Linked DNA regions of Homo sapiens: region 1 is linked to region 2. Evidence: promoter capture Hi-C in 16 types of primary human blood cells and fetal thymus (Javierre and others, 2016). All regions are on one chromosome and are shown on one strand. The core of a region is centred on a gene start or on the middle of the fragment in contact, and the rest is flanking DNA. Distances in the headings are between cores, read along the strand shown. Region 1 holds the start of TPK1 (thiamin pyrophosphokinase 1). Region 2 holds the start of RBM48 (RNA binding motif protein 48).

Region 1 (4,239 bases), core at 43-2,542, about 52 Mb after region 2:
GCACGTCAGTGACACTAAACCGTGGAAAGAAATACAGTACCAGTGGAAAGCAGGGGCTCCAACGGGGTAAAGGCATGCTCCATAACGGATTATTGGCCTCTGCATTAAAAAAAAAAAAGTGAAGTTAGACTCTCAGTTTTAATTAAACATCGCGCAGAACCAACAGCACGGGAGCCGCCTGAACCTGGCACTCGGCAGCGGCGCGCTCCGGGACCCAGGAGCCAGCTGAGCTGCGGCGCAGCACCCGGCGCTGGGGACCCGCCACGGCTCGCCTACAGCACCGCCGCGGGCGGGGGCCCCCGGAGACCGGCCGCGCGGGCCGCTATGAGGTCCGAGGGGTTGCCCCTGCCGCCTCTCTCCGCGAACCCATCACCATCCGGGAACCTGGGGAGCGAGAGGCGGCCGCCCCCTTCCGCGGCCCGCGCGCCCGGCAGCAGTCGCACTTACACAATGGCTGGTAGGAGCCACAGACTGGAGATCGCAGGCTGCGGGAGCTACGGCGATCGACCGCTCGGCGCTCGGCTGAGGAGCCTTGGCGCGCGGTCCTCGCTCGCAGGTTTTAGCCCCCGGGACGCGAGGTGGCCCCGCCCGCTTCCGGGAGCCGGAGGCAAGTGGGAGCCGCGCCCTGTGCTCTGCGTCCGGCACTACCCACCTCAAGTCTCCAAGGCTTCGTTTTCTGGGCTGGTTCTGCTAGCTGTAGTACTGCTGCCGGGCCCTCTGCACTCAGCTTTAACAAGGAGGCCATTTGCTTCAAACTAAGTGGCGAATTCCCTATCACCCATGCTTGACCTAGCTTCCAAGCCAAACTTACTTTCCACTGTGCTGCTTCTAGTCCTGCTACCGGTGTCCTCCCTGAGCCGTCGGGTTAAAAGCTTTCCTTCCTGGCCGGGTGCGGTGACTCACGCCTGTAATCCCAGCAGTTTGGGAGGCCGAGGCGGACGGATCATGAGGTCAGAAGTTCGAGACCAGCCTGGCCAGCATGGTGAAACCTCGTCTCTACTAAAAATACAAAAAATTAGCCGGGCATGGTGGCGCGCGCCTGTAGGCCCAGCTACTCGGGAGGCCGAGGCAGGAGAATCGCTTGAACCCGGGAGGCCGGAGGTTGCAGTGAGCCAAGATCACACCAGTGCACTCCAGTCTGGGCGACAAAGCGAGACTCCATCTCAAAGAAAAAAAAAAAGCTTTCTTTAGGGAACACTCCGTTAAGAGCTTTCCTTACTTTGCTTTGTGGAAACAGAATGTTTTTGTTGGAAGAAACTTTAAGCCACCTATCTGCAGCTGCAGAGCGTCACTGTTGCAATACAGGCTTTTCCAATAGTGAGCGAACCTAATCTCCCTCTACCCTCTTAAGGTTTCCACCTGGGCCTAAGAGGTTAAATTGACTTAAGACAGTTTAACAGGGGAAAAGCTTACAGCTATGTGCATGGGAGTCCACAAGAAAAGACCCAAAGAAGGAGGAAGCCTAAATGCTTATATACGGGTTTAGCTACAACAAATTTCAAAAGTCCATGTTTAAATATGACCTTAATGAACCTAAAAGACAATTGGGGTACAAGGAAACTATCTGCACATGTAATAGACAAGTGGTTGCCATGTGTTTATCCTATGAAGAGCTGTTACCAGTTGATGTGTCCAGGTTCTTGGCGTCTTGAACAAAGAATTGGACAAAACGCACAAAGCAAGGAAAGAATGAAGCAAAAACAGAGATTTATTGAAGATGAAAGTACACCCCATAGGTTGGGAGCGCCCGAGGATAGGGGCTCAAGAGTGCCGTTAGAGAATGTTCTGGGGTTTAAATGCCAGCTAGAGGTTTCCATTGGTTACTTGGCTTATGCCCTATGTAAATGAAGAGGATGAAGTAAATTTTAAAGTCATTTACTGGATATAAGCCCTGTGTAAATGGAGAGGATGTTTCCTGTCATTGCTGAAGTACTGCAATTTGATTTAGTTCCAGGAAGTCAGCATGAATCGGCCTTAACATTCCCTGCCTCCAGACCCTATTCTGCCTCAGAACTACATGTCCATTAGTAAAAGGCAAACCAGAAAAATTATGACCAAGGATATAAACAGGCAAGGCAAATTATAGAAGGTAGTCAAATGGCAAAAACACATCACCAATATTCAGAACGAAATCTTGAACAATGAATTCAATGGCAGATTGTAACCAATTTTTTAAGCAGTAATAAAAATTTACACTTACTGATCAATTATTATGTTCCAGTCAGTGTTGAGGTCTTTTATATTTTATTTAATTACCCTAAAATGTAGGCTCCAGGAAAACAAGGACCAAAATTTAGTTGTTGGCCCTTGAATCCTCACTCTAGCACAGTTTACTTGTTAATGATTTGTCTCCCCCTACTAGAGAGCTAGCTCTCTAAGGGCAGGAGCCTTGTCTATTTCCTTCCCTGCTATTTCTCCAGCCACACAGTGTGTCTCACCAAGATAAGTTCAGTAAATGTGAAATAAATTAACAAATAATGGGAAAAAAATGGAGAATTATGGTACTTCATACCAGGAATTACAGGCATACCTCCTTTTATTGTGTTTAGCTTTATTGTGCTTTACAGATACCGCTTTTACAAATTGAAAGTTTGTGGCAAGCCTGCATCAAGCAGGTCTATCTGCAACATTTTTCCGAAAGCGTGTACCTGCTTCGTGTCTCTGCGTCATATTTTGGTAATTTTCACAATACTTCAAATATTTCCATTAATATATTCATTACAATCTGTGATTAGTGATTCTTAATGTTACTCTTGTCATTGTTTTGGGGTGCCACCAGCCATGCCCTTATAAGACGGCAAACTTAATAGATCAATGTTGTGTGTTTCTTACTGCCCCGGGACCAGTACATTCTCCTGTTTCTCTCTCCCCGTGGGCCTCCCTATTCCCTAAGACACGACAGTATTGAAATTAGGCCATTTTATATTCCTACAATGGCCTCTAAGTGTTTAAGTGAAAGGAAGAACTGCATGTGTCTCACTTTAAATCAAAAGCTAGAAATGATCAAGATTAGTGAGAAAGTTTTGTCAAAAGAAAGCTAGGCTTTTTGTATCAGTTAGCCAAGTTGTGAATGCAAAGCAAAAGTTCTTTAAGAAAACTGAAAGTGCTACTCCACTAAACACATGAATGATAAGAAAGATAAACAGCCTTATTGCTATGAAGAAAGTTTGAGTGGTCCGTGTAGAAGATCCAGTTAGCCACAACATTTCCTTGAACCAAAGCCAGATCCAGAGCAAGGCCCTGATTCTGAATTATCTTAAAGTCTGGGAGAAATGAGTAAACTGCAGAAGAAAAGTTTGAAGATAGCAGAGGTTCATGTGGTTTAAGGAAAGAAGCCATCTCCGTAACATAAAAGAGCAAGGTGAAGTTGCAAGTACTGATGAAGAAGCTGTAGCAAGTTGACCAGAAAATCTAGCTAAGATCATTGATGAAGGTGGCCATTTTTCATGGAGATGAAACAACCTTCTATTGGAAGAAGATGACATCTAAGACTTTGATAGCTAGAGAGGAAAAGTCAATACTTGGCTTCAAAGTTTCAAAGGCCAGGCTGACTCACTTGTTAAGGCCTAATGTAGCTGGTGGTTGTCAGTTGGAGCCAGTGCTTGTTTACCATTTTGAAAATCCTAGGGCCCTTAAGAATTATGCTAAATCTGGCCAGGCACGGTGGCTCATGCAGATCACGAGGTCAGGAGTTCGAGACCAGCCTGACCAACATGATGAACCCTTGTCTCTACTAAAAATACAAAAATTAGCTGGGCATAGTGGCAGGTGCCTGTAATCTCAGCTACTCAGGAGGCTGAGGCAGGAGAATCGCTTCAACCTGGGAGGTGGAGGTTTCAGTGAGCTGAAATTGGGCCTGCACTCCAGCCTGGGTGACAGAGAGAGACTCCGTCTCAAAAAAAAAAAAAAAAAAAAAAAAAGAATTATTCTAAATCTACTCTGCCTGTATCTAGAAATGGAACAACGAAGCCTGAATGGCAACACATCTGTTTACAACATGGTTTACTGAATATTTTAAACCCACTATTTTACTGCTCAGAAAAAAAAAATCCTTTACAAATATTACTGTTCATTAATAGTGCACCTGGTCACCCAAAAACTCTGATGGAGATTAATGATTTCATGCCTGCTAACACATCCATTCTGCAGACCATGGATCAAGGAGTGATTTCTACTTTCAAGTCTTATCATTTAAAAAACACATTTTGTAATGCTGTGGTGCCATAGATAGTGATTCCT
Region 2 (4,129 bases), core at 1,616-4,115:
ATTTGTATGGAAGGAAGAAAAATGACTGAGGGAAGAATGGCATGAGTAAGAGAACAGAAGTGGGAAGGAGATTGGTTATAGAAGAAACAGTGAGAACGGTAGGTTGGGTGATGCAGAGTGAGCTATAGACAAGAGGGCAAATTAGCTGCATGGCAATGGTACTGGCCTAGGAATGCCAGTTTCCTTACATGTAAAAGTACAGAAACGACCTAGATGCTTAAGGTCTCTATCGTCATTAAAATTCTATGATTCTAGGACAGTAGGTCTCAACTCTTTTGTGCATCCAAGTAGCCTGAATAAATTTTTTAAAATTAGAGATGCCTAAAGCCTATTCCCTAAGATTTTAGGTCTGATTTAATAGGTCTGAGGGTTGATCAGAACATCTGTATTCTTAAAAGCTTCAAGGTAAGTCTGACATAGGCCAGAAAACCATTGTTCCAACCCTTCTTCCCATTACTGCATGATCTGTATTATGCACTCAATGCTTCACCCCAAATAAAGTAATTCAAGTATTAACTCCCAACTTGTGAATCTTTCTGCTTTCATAATTATCTATGGCCTCTAACCCAAGAATTCTGGGAATCTATCCTAGACAACCAGAAATAAAATGATGTTTTCTAAACAAAGATGTGTTATTTTCAACGTCTGATTAAAATATAGTTTATCACTTCTAATGCCTAAAAATTAAGTACAATCTAAATGGTCAATCATAGTAAACAATTAAATAAATTATGGCAAATTTGTGCTAGAATACTAATTAACAACTTAAAATGATGACCTTTTAACAAAATAAAACACTCATAATAACATTAAATAAAAACACCAGGACACAAAACTGTACGTGTGTATACAGGACCTCATTTATGTTAAAAATAAAGATTAGAAACAAAACTGGAAGATTTGATCCAAACTGTCAACATTAGTCACCTCTAAGTTCTGGGATTATGGGTAACTTATTTTCTTGTTAATAATTTTCCATGCTTTCCAAATTTTCTATAAAACATAAATTCTATAAATTTATATAATTCATCGAGGAATAAATGTATAGATTTATGGAATCTATAAAGTAATAAACTTATTACATTGATAATTAGAAAGTAAAGTTGACCTATTCTGCTAATATGGGCTGAACAGAAACAGCAATTTGTTCCAGGGCTAAAGACATTTACATTTCAAAAAGATATGCATGAATTAATTCTTATAAGTACTTCCCGAAGGCTCAAAATTTAAAACAAAGATCAAGACCACTAAATTCTTAAACAGTGATGAATGTAAGGTAACAACTACATCTTAGGATCAAATTAGAGTTACTGTAAGAAAGCATTCCTACTATTAAGTGCAGATTTGAAAACATGTTGAAAAATCCCATCGAAGCTGACAGAGCACTGAACCAACTTCTACCTGGAACTTGGTGACAGTGACTGATTTGTCTCTAGCCATAAAGCCCATCAAAAACCAAAAGATTGTCTACTTAGTGGTAAAAAATAATAACGACGATGATAGGAGGATTCTGCTGAACTCATGTTTTCAGTGGACCAAAAATATCTTCCCCTAGGTATGGGGAAGTAACTCAAGTGGAAAGAAGGGATGCTTGAAATTATTGCAAACTCTATTCATTGCATAGATTAGCCACTGGTGGGTACCATGCATCCAGGATTTATGAGGATTTCAAATACGCCGTCCTTTTGCCCCCATAAGTACACTCAAACTCGTGAGACCATGTGCCTCTATTTTTAATTATGAAAATATGGACGCTGTATCTCCACCAGTGGTTAGAACTGTGAAACATCCTAACCACAACGTCCAGAAGGGCGACTGATCGCAGAGCTTCAAGTGATCTTAACTACGTTATGTGTTCCTAACACACTACAGCTGTGTTCCGCGTCAGCGACGCAGGGCAGAACCATCATTGTATTAACCTTTCCCGCTCATGGGACGCGGTGCTTAGTCCCCGGGAACCGACAGGGGCTCCGCCAACAACTCTGCGTCCCGCTCTCGCGGCCCGGACGGCAGCAGCGCAGGTTAACTGGAAATGGCTGGCAAGGAAAACACCTTTTAAAATAATAAAAACAAACCACTTCTCAGGAGCTTTTCCAGCCTGGAATAAGGAATATTTATAAAAACAGTGGTAGAATATTAGGACGTTTCTAGGTTCAGTTTCACCAAGTGAAAAGACCTGGGATAAGACGAGCCCAGGGCTGCACTGGACTTGTGGGATCCAGAGACTACCCAGAAGGGCCCTGCCGTCGAGGGACCCTGATCTCTGCGCGCTTCGGCGGCGCCCGGGTGGCAGCCGGTGTCCCGCCGCGTCCCTGAGAGGCTTCGGCCTCGTCCGACCCCAGGCTGAAGATCAGGTGGCTCGGGGCCGGCAGGTTACCTGCAGCAGATGCAGCTGGGCCACGAGACGCCGCGGCAGGTGGAGGAAGCAGTCGCGAGCGTTGGTGAAGGCCACAGTCACTGCCGCCCCGCCTCCCCCAGCACCCGCCAGGCGATCGCTGCCCCACATCGTCCCGGAGCGTCGCTCTGGGTTCGCCCACCCTAGCGCCGCAAAGGACCCGGGACCCGGCAGGCCGAGGACGTCGGAGCCGGAGGAGATCGATCGGCCCCGCCCCCTGCGGCCCCGCCCCCTCTCCCCGCTGCGCATCCTGCCGTAAGCCTGTAGTGGGTGGGACAAGAAAGCTTCTGTCACCCACCGCGCCTCTCCGCCGAGCCGCTCGGGGGCGGCACCTCGTTCATCAAATCTTCGCACGCAGGAAACGATGGCCGACGCTGTCGATTCTCCAGCCAATCCTGGCACTCCTTAACTCATCCCGCTCTCTTATTGGATAAAAGGGAGCTCAGTAGGGCGGATGTTGTCCTCCCTGCGAGGATCAAAGTAGGCAAGATGGCGTCGAGCGGCGGGGAGCTAGGGAGTTTATTTGATCACCACGTCCAGAGGGCGGTATGCGACACACGGGCCAAATATCGAGAGGGACGACGGCCTCGTGCTGTGAAGGTAAAGTGATTTTGGTTTCATTCGCTCTCCTCGGTAGCTTTATGTGAGTGCTAGCGCCATATGACCAGCCTACGGAAATAAAGGCACGACAAGGCTTCCGTCAGATCTGTCTCTCGTTAGAGCTGGCGTGAAGAACCCTCGGTCAGTTACCAAAGATTCTCACGACGCCTTTGGTCAAGTATTAGAACATCAACTCCACGAGAATAGGCCTTGGTTTTAGTCATTGGATCTTCTGTGTTTACAGTACTACTTGGCACAGGTAAGCACTCAGTGAATATTCGTTGAGTGATTGTTCCCAGTGACTTCTACCGACTCAATTTCTGGAAAAAAATGTCGACTGAAGGTAGTCTGTTATATGCCTTAGGTAGCCTCTCACATGGACTGTTATTCTTTATGCAGAAGGAATGGCAGAAATTTCATTTTGTGTTCTTTTGCTGACTGGGTTGAACAGATTATTTCTTGTTTTCAAAGTTCTCTTTAAAAAAAAATAGAGGCAGATTCGTCCTAGGCTTATTTGCGAAATACGTTTAATAACTCTGCATTTCTTTCAGGTATATACAATCAATTTGGAATCTCAGTACTTATTAATACAAGGAGTTCCTGCTGTGGGAGTCATGAAGGAATTAGTTGAGCGATTCGCTTTATATGGTGCAATTGAACAGTACAATGCTCTAGATGAATACCCAGCAGAAGACTTTACTGAAGTTTATCTTATTAAATTTATGAACTTACAAAGTGCAAGGTAATGTGCAAGTTAAGAAATGACTCATTTCCTCATTTCTTCCATTCATATTTCTGTCATTTTGGCCCCAAGTTTCCCTCATTCATAACTGAATTACCCCAAAACGTAATCTAGCATATCTTCCTCCAGCCTTTTTAAAAGTTAACTTTACTGAAACACTGTATCCATCACATCATTCCCATGCTTAACAATTTAATGTCCTGTAGCTTGGTAGAGTAGAAGTTGGGTTTGGCCAGGCACGGTGGCTCACGCCTGCAATCCCAGCACTCTGGGAGACCGAGGTGGGCGGATCACGAGGTCAGGAGTTTGAGACCAGCCTGGCCAACATGGTGAAACCCCCCTCTCTACTAAAAATACAAAATTAGCTGGGTCTAGTGGCGCAGGCCTGTAAT

Evidence for each region. The method cuts DNA at HindIII sites, captures the fragments that hold promoters and counts their contacts. A CHiCAGO score of 5 or more calls a contact.
Region 1: a contact is called between a fragment that was not itself captured here and the fragment with the promoter of RBM48 in region 2, in 1 of 17 cell types (non-activated CD4 T cells). The highest score is 9.6, in non-activated CD4 T cells.

Annotation. Positions count from the first base shown.
Region 1 is chr7:144,835,520-144,839,758 of GRCh38, forward strand. It overlaps TPK1 (thiamin pyrophosphokinase 1), which reads right to left and starts at 534. Exons shown (of 9, transcript NM_022445.4): 1 at 448-534; 2 at 41-99. The coding sequence starts at 83. RefSeq lists a silencer at 275-374 and an enhancer at 675-744. The HindIII fragment of the contact is 227 bases long and covers 1,180-1,406 here.
Region 2 is chr7:92,525,930-92,530,058 of GRCh38, forward strand. RBM48 (RNA binding motif protein 48) reads left to right here and starts at 2,866. Exons shown (of 5, transcript NM_032120.4): 1 at 2,866-2,995; 2 at 3,547-3,737. The coding sequence starts at 2,885. It overlaps PEX1 (peroxisomal biogenesis factor 1), which reads right to left and starts at 2,591. Exons shown (of 24, transcript NM_000466.3): 1 at 2,378-2,591. The coding sequence starts at 2,506. RefSeq lists enhancers at 2,010-2,189, 2,790-3,169 and a silencer at 2,420-2,649. The HindIII fragment of the contact is 3,452 bases long and covers 2,678-4,129 here.